2 separate regions of the Homo sapiens genome follow, and region 2 is linked to region 1. Evidence: promoter capture Hi-C in human tissues and cell types (Jung and others, 2019). All regions are on one chromosome and are shown on one strand. Each heading gives the region's core, a stretch centred on a gene start or on the middle of the fragment in contact. The rest is flanking DNA. Distances are from core to core; before and after follow the strand shown.

The links. Contacts are between HindIII fragments. The study calls those that stand out against the background at their distance.
Region 2: a contact is called between a fragment that was not itself captured here and the fragment with the promoter of TTC29 in region 1, in 1 of the 25 tissues and cell types used here (H1 embryonic stem cells).

What each region holds. Positions count from the first base shown.
Region 1 is chr4:146,944,414-146,950,594 of GRCh38, forward strand. TTC29 (tetratricopeptide repeat domain 29) reads right to left here and starts at 1,451. Exons shown (of 13, transcript NM_031956.4): 1 at 1,296-1,451; 2 at 618-664. It overlaps TTC29-AS1 (TTC29 antisense RNA 1), which reads left to right. Exons shown (of 7, transcript NR_188447.1): 3 at 1,018-1,141. RefSeq lists a silencer at 1,444-1,583. The HindIII fragment of the contact is 11,756 bases long and covers 124-6,181 here.
Region 2 is chr4:147,080,734-147,086,997 of GRCh38, forward strand. All of the region lies in intron 2 of LOC105377476 (a long non-coding RNA gene), which reads left to right. Among named protein-coding and RNA genes, the nearest start is that of TTC29, 140 kb to the left of the region's middle. The HindIII fragment of the contact is 4,512 bases long and covers 1,213-5,724 here.

The DNA of each region.
Region 1 (6,181 bases), core at 201-2,700:
GAATGTGTCCCATGGTGTGAGCTTAAATTTTTGGCCCCCAAGTAAAATTCTTCAAAGAGTAACTCTCCTGCCCTCTATCCCCAGAGATGCCTTTATCAGGAAACACAAAGGAGGGAGACCTACTACTATGTAAATGGAGGCTACTTGGAGAATGACTATGTCTGAGGCTGACCAGTGTCTGCAGGGTTCAGTCACTTTGGAGTAAAAACTGAGATTAGAGAAATAAAGCCAGTAAACCACAGTAAGCAAGTTTATTATACATCATCACGAGTTCAAAACAAGTAGGATTTTACTAAAAATCATTCATAAGAATTAAAACTTTTCATATTATCCAAGCTCTTTTACTATGAAAGTTTAATGAAAACTACAGAAGAAATATCACTAATTATGCTCCCTAAGTAAAAAAAAAAACATAATTAAGTTTATAAAGAGTCAGTAATAATGTTTATTCTCGGTATCATAATTTTTGGACACTTCTGGCACTCTCTCATGGGTAGATAGGTTGTTTAGTAAAATAAATAGAAAACACACATTTCCTACCAGCTGACATTGATGGCTAAATCACAAAATCAAGCAGGAAATGAGTTTGAAGGCAAGCCATATTTCACGTGACTTACATTTGCAGATTACTGCTGATGGTCTCTCCAGGCTTATAGACTTCAGCCTGAAAATCAGGAAGCAAAGAATAATAGCAAAGAAGAAAAATTTAAAATCATTCAGTAGTGTAACTCCTCTCCCCGCTCCAAGTCATGGAATAAGATTCACTCTTACAACAAATACTTCCTACCATCTAAGTTTAGATGAACTTTTAAAGAAAATCCCCAAGTATAGATCCTATGAGAGAAACTAATCACTAAATCAGTGAAATGCCAAAACATCTGAAATATGTATATGTATTGATGTATTTCAATACAAATGTGACATTAGGGATAACCATTTGTTCTCTCAAATTTACGAGATACAGTTATCTTTGCCAAAAACGGAGAGCATCTCAGTTCCCTTTCTGTTCCCACCTAGTTCTCAACAGGACTAAAGGACTTATCCTATGCCTAGTTTTTCACTCCCCTCAGAGGGTCAGGTGAACTGGGGAGCAAGAGGAACTGGCGCCTTTCCCTACTTCTCTTTCAATTCGTTTATTGAGGTAAGTGGCGAGGGCCTGGACTGAGGAAGCTTGAGAAAGACTGATGGAGGAAGGGCTGGCTGTAGGGGTCAGGGAAGGGGCTGCCTGAAGAACAGCCTGCCTCTCCAAGGAGCTGAGGAAGTCCGGTCCCAACCTCGCCCCTGCCGTCACGAACCTCGGTGCACTGGCCCAGGGAAACAACTCCAGTTTTCCGTTCCGCCGAAGTCAGTCCCCCACCGGCGGCAGGTGCTGGGCGTTGGCGCTGCCCCCTCCTCTCTCAGTGATTCCGAAGCCTGGCTCCGCCGGAGCGGAGACAGGGGACGCCGAGAGCGTCTCCACGGAAACAGAGAGGCGAGGCATGACGGCCGGGGGTGGAGTTAGGCTAAACCGGGCCTCGGGATTGGGGCAGCTCCCAGACTCTTCGGGCTTGGGGGCGGAGTCTGGCGAGGGGTGGAGCTTACTGACGGCCGGGCGGGGCCCCCAGATAGCTGAGGCTTTTCAAGCAGGGCTGCTTTCAGAAGTTAGCTCGCTTTTAGGCATTTTCACGTAACCCAAGAGGCTCGAATTTGCCACTTTCATTTCTTTCGTGGCCTTGCATTCTCAATGCTTTTTCTTCATTTCTCTTTTGTCCACAGGATTGATGGGAAAACGCTGAGCTAGGCATTCATGATCCCCGTGACCTGAAGCCAATTTATCCATCTAGCTAAGTCATTCATTCTCCTCTTCCTCAGCCTCTCTTGCAGTCAGAACCCACCACAAATGCCTTTTCCTGTCATGTCCCCACAGACAATTCAATTTTGAATTGTGGTTCGCTAAATACTCAAGGTCTCTTTCAGAGAATCTCCCTGCATCTGTCCTTATTTGTTTTGCATTTTTACCTGAAACTCAGGGTTTTATATTTACACTAAATAAATATCATCGTATTAATCTCGGCCCATCATTCCATCTCTTCTCTCAGACATGAGTGCAAGGAAGTGAAATTCCTTGCTCATTCCCTCATATATATATGGGGCAAGAGAGTGAGGCTTGCCACTTGTTACTTCTAAAATACAGAAGTGCTGGAAAGTTAGGCTATTGTTCCTTGTCTACTGACACACATTGTAGGAGAACGAGCCAGCGATATTGCTCACACGAATCATTCTATTAACCATAAATCGATTCTATTTAGAGTACAAGCATATCAACCATAACCACACTTTCATTCTAACATCTCATTTGCTGTAACAAATTACTAAATTATTTCCAAGTATGTTTACATTATACATTCAATGAGCACTGTGACTATCTGTAATTGGGCTCCACCCCATCCCCCACACCAGTAAGACTCTCATTCTATTCTCATGAGTTTATTTTCCAGTTTCAGCATCACCTTAACACACTCCACTGTGACCTGTGTGAATTCTTTTCCAGTCCTTGCTGCTTTTTCTGACTTAGAGTCTGTTTGTGAATTCCATGCACCTTCCTTTCTCACAGGAGGCTGTCTTAGTTGGCTTTCTAGGTAGTTCCTTCCTGCTTCTTTGGACTTACTTCTCCTACTTGCTGTTTTTTCACTAGAAGTTCTTTGACTAACTCTCTTTCTCCTTCTGTTTAGCATAGAATTCCTTCAGTTAGAGAACTTTGTTTGCAAGTGACAGAAAACACAAACGGGCTTAAGCAAAAAAGGAAACTGATGAAAACCAAAGGATGCCAGATTCAGCTGCAACTTTATCTAGAAACTCAGGCCTTTCTGAAAGTTTTGAGGATTCCAGAATACCTCTTCCTTTCACTACACAGAATTAATTTCTCCTCCTCTCGCCTCCTTTCTCTTAGACCTACCTTGATTTTATCAGTATAACTTTGCATGGTGTTTGGCTTATGGGAACCAAACTTGCCTGAAAGATTGTGAGTACCTTGAAAGCAGAGACTTTGTTTTATTGTTTTCTGAATTCCCTTGTACCGTATGCAAGGATTAGTATACAGTATGTGCTCAAAAATATTTTTTGAATTAACAGAATGACAGAATAGAGTGGTTTTTCAAACAGATTCTTCCTTGTGTAATTCTTCTCATTGCTTCCTCAATCTTCTCCACCTAGAATTCTAGGGGGAAGGTCAGGTGACACAACTGATAGTTTGAATGCTATTACTGACATAACAACCTCTAAAGTTTCCTCTTCCAGTCTTGCTCTGGAGAAATGATTTTAGGTTAGGTCAGCTCCCTAAAGAAGCAAGAGACAATTTTCTAATGGAAGCCAATCCATCTTAACTGCTCCCCATAATTGTTCTCAAAGTGTTTTTGATATCTCAATCATCAATTTCTACAGTAAAATTATTCTGAATCATTCTTGTTTTACTAAACACATCCCCAAGTAACATCTTAGGAAAGAACATATGAGATAAAATTTTAAGTTCTTTCATGTCTGACAATATCCTTATTTTGCCTACAATCATTTGGTAGGATTGCACATTCTAGATTAACAATCATTTCCCTCTGAATTTAGAAGGTATTATTTCACTGTTTTCTAGTATCCAGTGTTTGGGATGAGAAGTCTAGTGGCAATTTTATTGTCCTTCCTTTGTATGTGATGTAGTAGTAAGATCCATATGCAGTGACAACCACAAATTGACAACCACAAATCTGTGTGGCCTAAAACAACAAAATTTATTGATTGATTACCGTATGTCACCATCACAAGTCAGCCTTGGGTTTTGCTCCATGCTATGCCACAGCAGAATCAATATGAGAGAACCTTTGCCACCTGGAGGATGGCTGGTCTGTAGCAGAGAGATCATGAGAGTAAACTGCACATTAGCTTTAAAGGCTTCATCCAAAAGGGTATCCATCACTTTCACATTTCGTTGGCCACAACTGAAGTAGCCATGCTCAACTTTAAGAAAGCAGGTATGCACGATTTCACCTGTGCCTGAAAGACCAGATTATCCTTTAATAGTCATAATGATGGTCGTAGACTTGGTTTTTCCCCTCAACACAGGCATTTTTAGGTTACTTTATCCTTTTTGTTCTCAAATTTTATGGTAGAACTCTTCAGCTGAGTACTCACATCCTTCTTCAGATTTAGATAATTGTCTTCTATTTTTTAAATTATAATTTCCTTGTCTTGAATTTGTTCTATTATTTCTTTAAGATTCTGTTTAGTGAATGCAGATCCCTAGATTTGTCTTTTTTATCCTTGATTTTTTAAAAAAGATTTTTATCCTTTTTGCCTTTATATTCTAAAGTCTGTAAGTTTTTGACAATATTGCTTTTTAGTCTTTAATTGATTTGCTTGTACATAGAAGGAGTCACATTCTTGGTCTTTGAGCGTTCTTGCTTTCTGATTGCTCCTTCTTTATAGACTCTTTTATTAATGTAATATTTTGCAATTATCTCTGAATATATTAATTTGTTTTTTAAAGTTATCTTTTTATTTTTAATTTTTGTGGGTACATAGTAGGTGTATGTATTTATGGAATACATTAATTATTTTGATATAGGCATAAAATGTGTAATTATCACATCAGAGTAAATGGGGTACCCATCACGTCAAGCATTTATCCTTTGTGTTATAGACAATCCAACTGATACTCTTATTTTTAAACGTAGAATTAAATTATGATTGACTGCAGTCACTCTGTTATGCTATCAAATACTAGATCTCATTCATTCTTTCTAACTATATTTTTGTACCCTTTAACCATCCCCACTCCCAACCCCACCCCCTCACTACCTTTCCCAGCCTCTGGTAACCATTCTTCTACTCTCTCTCTCCATGAGTTCAATTGTTTCAATTTTGAGCTCCCACAAATAAGTGAGAACATGTGAAGTTTATCTTTCGGTGCCTGGCTTATTTCACTTAACATAATTACCTCCAGTTCCATCCATGTTGTTGCAAATAACAGGATCTCATATTTTTTTATGGTGGAATAGCACCTCAAAAGTTGCCCTTTTTTTTTTGTTAAATTATCTTTTCTTCCAGGGAAAGTGTTTCTTTTGTTAATGTTGAAATTTCTGTATTAGGTACCATATTGTATTTGGTTACTCTGTTAATTAGCATTAGGTTCAGCTGTGAGTAACAAACAAACAAGCAAACTACAGAATAGGAATGACACTCCATGGTGTCAGATTCCTAGTTTCTTCTGTTTTTAGCTTCACTGCACATGGATTGCATTCCCAAGATTGCCTCATTGGTGATCCAGCTATTACATCTTATCAAAAGAAAGCCTGCACAGGGATGAGGGGGTCAAATGGGGAACCTAGTGGTTAAATTTTTAACAATGGAAATTGTGCTATCTAGGCATATTCAGAGAAGACTTAGTAGCCTAAAGTGCAAAGCCCCTATTAAGCATTTACCACTGAGGCATCTTTGCTCAGAAAATTCCCCTTTCTTGACTGATATAGCTGTTCTTTCCTTGCTTGAAGACACTGCTACTTCTTTGCCTAAGGTGGTTCTCTTGAAGAAAAAATACAATACATTTTTATTTACCCAGCCTATCCAGATCTGTCATTAGAAGTGAATTCCATCATGTCCTAGGGGACAATAGTTTAAATATCCAAATCTCAGAAGGCTCTTGTAAACACAGACGGGCACGCGCATACACACACACAGAGAGAGAAGGATGAATTTGCTAGTTTATATCAGTAAAACTCCAAGGACATTGTTTTCTTTCAGAATAGATTTTTGAGGATTCTTCAACAAAAAGGTTGGAATACAATATTAGAAAAAATAAATTTGTCAAATGAGTGTGTTTTCCAGAGATTCTAAATTCCACGTGTTATTTTGGGTGACTAAGTATATTTGACAGTTTTCTGGTTTGGGTAATGCAAACCTTCCCAACTCTAAAGCAAGTTGTGTTGAAAAAAAAAAGTTTAATTTAAAGTCTTTCAGAAACAGGAATGCTAGCATACATCATTATGTCTTACCTCCTAACTGTGTTCTCTTAAGACCATGTTGAAATTTTCCATTCCTCAAGGATTTGAGATCTACAAAGCCAGAGACTTTCTAAGTTCTTTATTATTTTGTTTCCCTTGTTTAACAGCGCTAGTGGGAGATGTTAAACTGAAATGGGCACCTTGACTTCAATGGA
Region 2 (6,264 bases), core at 2,219-4,718, 140 kb after region 1:
ATATATTTAAATGAAACAAAGACAGAACTTTTGTTTTATTCATCATTATAGTCTCCAATGTCTACCAAGTACCTTCTATTAGGTACTTCAAAGCAGTATTTGAACTTTTAAAAATCAACTTTATTAATCCTCTAGGATTAATGAAGTATCTTTACGAATAAATACACAGCCTGCTCTTCTAAAATAAAGTCACTCATTTTTGTCTGATTAACATGTTTAAATTGTTACAATTTTTTTAATTTTAGAGATACCAAAAGTGAGCCATTTTATTAAACATTACCCTATCTACAACTAGGATTTTCAAATAATATTTCCAGGATTTATATTCCTTTTTGGTTTTATTTCCAGCCTCCTCATCCCTCTACTTAGTGGGATCAAGGGAACATAGAGGTGCAGTACTGGGTGGTAAACAGAAAAAAAAACTCCTTTAAGGACTATTGCAGGGCAGGTGGCAGAAATCAACTCGCTCATGACAGTAACTCTCTGACAGCACAAAGAGGCTGAGAGAGCTACTCAACTGTCAGAGAAAATCATTTAAGGAGCAGGGGCCCTGATTTCAGACCTGGACAGATAAAGCTTTATAGCCTACTAAAATAGGCTATCTAAGAGAAAGACCCAGATCATTGTGGTTAATATCAGCCACACAGCAAAGTATGAACAGCATAGCAACACAGCATCTGATAACAACTAGAGCCAATGTGAGCAGGAAAAACTTTTCTCAAAACAATGACAATCAGCCTGGTCAACTTTACAAGACACATTCAATTCACTTCAGTTTTCACAGACCACAGTGTTTCTCTATTTATAAACAATGTTTTTCGGGGAGTCAGTGTCCTATTGCTTTAATACACCTCTGATACAGTGGTCTATTCCAATTTGAATTGTTGGATGGCTTAATTAGAGAACTAGAAAATAACAGGAAAAAAGCCAACAGTCATACACCTAAATTTCCTCTATGTGTCCGAGGTATGACATGCATTCCTCATTTAGGGCCCAGCACAATCCCATGATGTGGGCATCACTGGCTCCATTTTACAGATGTGACTGTTAAACCTGTAAGTTCACATGCTTTCACCACGCCATGAACTGTGTGCTTGAAGTGTCACTGTGTCTGGGTAGAGCAAGCGGAGACCTGGTCATAAACGGGTGTGTAAGGAGTGAGTGTTCGTTTGATGAGCAGAGTGATGTTGTATTCAAATGGCTGAGAACTGCTGGCATGGTGGCTCATGCCTGTAATCCCAGCACTTTGGGAGGCCGAGGCAGGCGGATCACGAGGTCAGGAGATCAAGACCATCCTGGCTAACACAGTGAAACCCCATCTCTACTAAAAATACAGAAAATTAGCCGGGCATGGTGGTGGCCGCCTGTAGTCCCAGCTACTCAGGAGGCTGAGGCAGGAGAATAGCATGAACCCGGGAGGCAGAGCTTGCAGTGAGCCGAGATTGCCCCACTGCACTCCAGCCTGGGAGACAGAGCGAGACTCCGTCTCAAAAAAAAAAAAAAAAAAAAAAAAAATGGCTGAGAACTTTGCAACCCTGTACTCACCATTTGAAAAAAATGCAAATAAAATAATTCTTATTAAATGTCTACTTCTCATGGCAAAACTAGTAAGTGGCCAATGCTGAAAAAAATTTTAACCCAAGTCAACAAACAAATGTAGTTGGGACGAAAGCCATCAGCCTCAAGATTCTGAGCAAATTGAAAGATGAAAATGAAGAGGCTTTGGTGAATATTTACTTTTGTTTGTAGTGAGTTCTAAAGGATGGTACTGATCAAATATAAGGGTGACCACTTAGAACAGAAGAGATCCAGAAGAGGCCTTTAAGCCCTACCTCCAAACAAGAAAAGCTTGGGGAGCCTAAAATAAACCCACCACTTGAGAAAAATCTGTAGGAAAGGTAATTATCTGTGTAAGGGGGTAGAGTGAGGAAATTATAATTTTTTCATTTACTGAGATCCCTGGAGTGGGAAATAAGAAATATCTACAAGCCTTCAATAGTACTGAGAGCAAATGAATCGTGATAGAATCAGGAGATGGCTGCCGAGGCTTAGAGAAGCTAGGATTGGCTGTGTTCTGTTAAAGTCACCAAGTGAATGGCTAAGGAAATCAAGGACTTACAATTTTAAAGTACAAAGTAATCTTGAAAATTACCTAATTTAATCCCTAATCTCATAAGCTTGAAATCTACAGTCCAGAAATGGTTTTAGAACACCAGGTCTTTGACACCTAGGACAGCATTCTTCTACTACTTCATGATATTCTCTCATACATCCATTATAATCATCCATTATAATCAGTTATCAAATATACATAATATGCAATATACTTACTCTTCAAAAGTGGTTGTAGAAGACAACAAAAATTACCTCAAGCTTTCCCCATAGCCAGATTGGAGCTGCCTTCGACATGCAAAATGTGTATTACAAATACCAAAATGAGGTTATTTTTCTAGAGCAAATTTTAGCAGCATCAAAAAGTATACTAAAAATATGCCACTAGGCAGAATCTTCATCTTTAAATAAAATATTGGTCTCTCTACAATAAAAATATAATGTACAGTTTATTTATTCTTGCTTTAGACAAAAATAAAATAAACCCGGAGAATTTTGGAGATCATTTGTAAACTGAACACAGCACAGTTATTCTACTAATCCTCAATTTCTCACTGGAAGTAGAGGACCCCCTTGAAACTTGAGTGAGGTGAGTTAAGGACCAATAAAAGGAAGTATTACTTTACAAAGAAAATAATAAACGTATGGAGCTCATTATCACAAAAGAGGTACAGGCAAGGAATATAAATGGATTCATAAAGGTTTTGACCAAATTTATGAATGTCAGAGCCATAAATGGCTACTGAGAGTACACCTAACCTTTAAGGTTAATGTCAGGGAGGAAAACTATGTCCTTCCCTGGCAAATCCCTTGAGGCCTCTGTTGTCAACACAATATTAGGTTGGATGGAACATGGGCTTTTCCAGCAGAGCAATTCCAAAGTTCCTTTTAGCTAATAGGAAACAGGACCAGATGAACATCCATCTCTTCAATAGAAGCATAAATGAAATGGATCCATTTTAAATGGGAAGCTTAATGAAATGATGCTGTTGAAATTTGTTATTTCTATAATCAAGGTTGTGTGTGTGTGTGTGTGTGTGTATATATGTATCTCCAAAGTGTGTGTGTGTGTATATATATATACACTTTTTTGTTTATATAAACAAGAAAAAAGATTTAAGTTTTTGGAATTGGAAGAAAGCCAATATTTGCAATGTTTGAATCCAGGCCCTGGTGCAAGTTACTTCCCATTCAGTGCCTCAGCATTCTCACATGTAAAATGGGGAGAATAATCCCCATGGTAAGGGCATTTTGTGAGAGTCATGCTAGAAAGCACTTTGTAAACTGAGAAACAAAATATATATATAGTTGCTGTAGCATATAGCCAGCTTTAAGCAAATCTCAATCATTTTAGCAGAAGGCTTGTGAGACACATGAGATTGGAAGGCTCCTCACTTTATTTTTCCTGGGAGAATTAATACAAATATTCAAAAAGTACTCAAGACCCAAGTCAAATGCCCTCTCACAATGGCAGGGTTTCTTTCTCCTCTAAATTTCCAGAACATTTTAGTCATGTCTCAGTTAGACTATTTGTATTATGATTTGTCTGCTAATTTACCTCCTTCATTTAACTATGAGATCTTCTAAATCAGAGGCCTTGTCTTATTCATCTCTGCATCCCTAATACTTATCATAGTTCCTCATATATAGTTGGCAATTAATGGAAGTGAATAAATCACTTAATGTGTTACTAATCCTGTTGTCTCCACCTCACACTTCACAGTCATGGAATAAAGGAATGATCCAACTATAAAATGCAATAAACCGATCATGGCTAAGGTACAAAGTCAAGACCAAGCCTATGCTTGGTCTCATTTCTGGGCTCCAGTCTCTAACTCCCTTATTGTGGAGAGAATAGTGTCTTGGTTCTATTTGCATGAAAAATAAAAAGCAAAACCTGAATTACAGAGTAGTGAAATCTTCACCAAGTGCACATGCGTAAAATCCTAAAAATCTCTTGATTTCCTAAAACTACAGTTTTTAACTCTTTAAAATAAGATGAACACTATATAATTCTGACCATGGCCTCACATTTTAGGTAAGTACACCATTGCAGAGCATCTGATGGCCACTATCATGATCCACAAATAGAAAACAGCCTTGTTATCTACAGAATTCAATGCAGGGGTCAAAATGAATGTTAAAATACAACCTGCATATTTAGTCCATGACATGAACAAACAATTGTAGGTATTTAGATCTAGTGCCTGGATTGCAAATGCTCAACTTTATCCTTAATGGCCGATTTCCAAGCATACTTCTGGTTCCATGAGCTTGACTCAATGGACTAAATGCTTTTCTTCTTTTCCCATAAGTTAGGGTGGTTCTGCTTTATCAGATTTTTTTAATGCCTAGAAAATGTTCTCCTCTTGTTTATGAAGTTAGAAGGGTAAACAGGAAAGAGACTGCTGGCATTAAATAAATATGCATGTATACAGATGCACAGGTGTGTATGCTCACATGTAACCCTGTTTTCACTTAACAGCAGTTGAAAGAATGAGAGTGAAATGGGTCAATAAGCCACTGGACACCAGCATTTTCTTCAGCATCCCCAGGGGCCAGTCCCACCCTACCGCTGCCTTTGTGAGGGCACTCTCTGGCCAGTTTTGCTCAGCACATTCATTTAGCAGTTGGCATTTTTGTTGTGAAGCTGACCTTCTGCTCCTCTGAGTTCCTAAATGCTATCCACTAATATAACAGTTTTTCTTGTCAAAGGGATTGTAATGAATGTTTATTTCAGATCTACACTTCTTAGCTTATCTGTAGCCAGACTGACTTTGCTGCCTTCAGATTTCAGCTGTTTTATTCCCCAAGGCTAAATTTACATTGGTAATTAATAATATCCTTGCTTATTCTGACCAAATACATACATATAAATGTATCTTCCACCTCTCTGCATCATAAATGCATCTTACACTTATCTTATTGTCATTATTTCCTGCTGTCAGTCTCATATTGGAATACGCAACATTGCTGTACTTTGTCATGGTGAAAAGTTTGTCCTGCAAATGCTCAGTTTCTTAGGTCTTCCGTGAATGGCTGTGCTTATCTCATGTGTGCTTCTAGGCATCTCCAGGGCTCTGCATTTAACTTCATACTTCTAAAAGCATCTGTACAGAGGTAATATTAATGTTATTGCCACAGACAGGCAGAGCCTCATTTCTCTCTGCTTTGACTGAAAATGCCTGTTCATAGTGAAAATGTGCAGACATTGGCATTCTTGTATGAGGTTGGAATGTGTGTGGGTCCAGCCATTGACAGCAGGAAGAAATAAGACACAACTGCCAGATGGCTTGGTTTAAAAAAAAAATACCAGTCAAGATTTGCTAGTGATCCATAACCATTAAAATTATTTTCCCAAAGGATTCTCTATTCCGAGGCTGGAAAAATATTCCTGAATTCACTCTCAGTTCTGAGATGGGGTTGCGTGAAAGAGTGGGTGATTTAAAGATCACTTATCTCCCAGAATAGGTACTTAAACTAGACATACTGGGTGTTTAAAATTCTCGATATAAGGATATGACTGCTATCATCTTTAAATTTTTTGAAGATCTGATTTAGAATTCATAGTAGGAAGGCAGAAAGTAGTAGAATGAAGATTGAATTTGGAGTTAAGTTCTAGTCTCTACCATTAAGTGGTTATCTTTAGTGTATCCCTAAGCCTCAGTTTATTTTCTATATGTTGGAGATAAAATCTGCACTCTCTAGGTCATAGTCATAGTATTGTTTAAAGATCTTAAGATAAAAATGTGCAGAAATGAACTCTGTAAACCATCCAGTGCTATGAATCCAAATTGCTGTTATAAACTAACACAGAAGTTCCTGAGTGGGGGAAAAAATTAATAAGAAACCTATTAATGGCCCTGGTAGCTTTTGCAACCTGGGTTTCCTTAGATCATTCATGTTGTAACTTTCATGTTGTTGGTTTGATCATTAGATTAATTCACTTTATATTGTTTTCTTATTTTATCCCCGAACAACTCAAACCCAAGCTGAATTATAACAACAAATAATAATGTTTAGGAAAAAAAAGTCTGGTCCCAAACAATGGTAACTATTATAAATTTTTGACATGCACACTGGAAACAAGAATTTCAGTAGAAAATAATTAGCTTGTTGTCTTTGCGTTCATTTAAGTTAAAGTGATGGTTA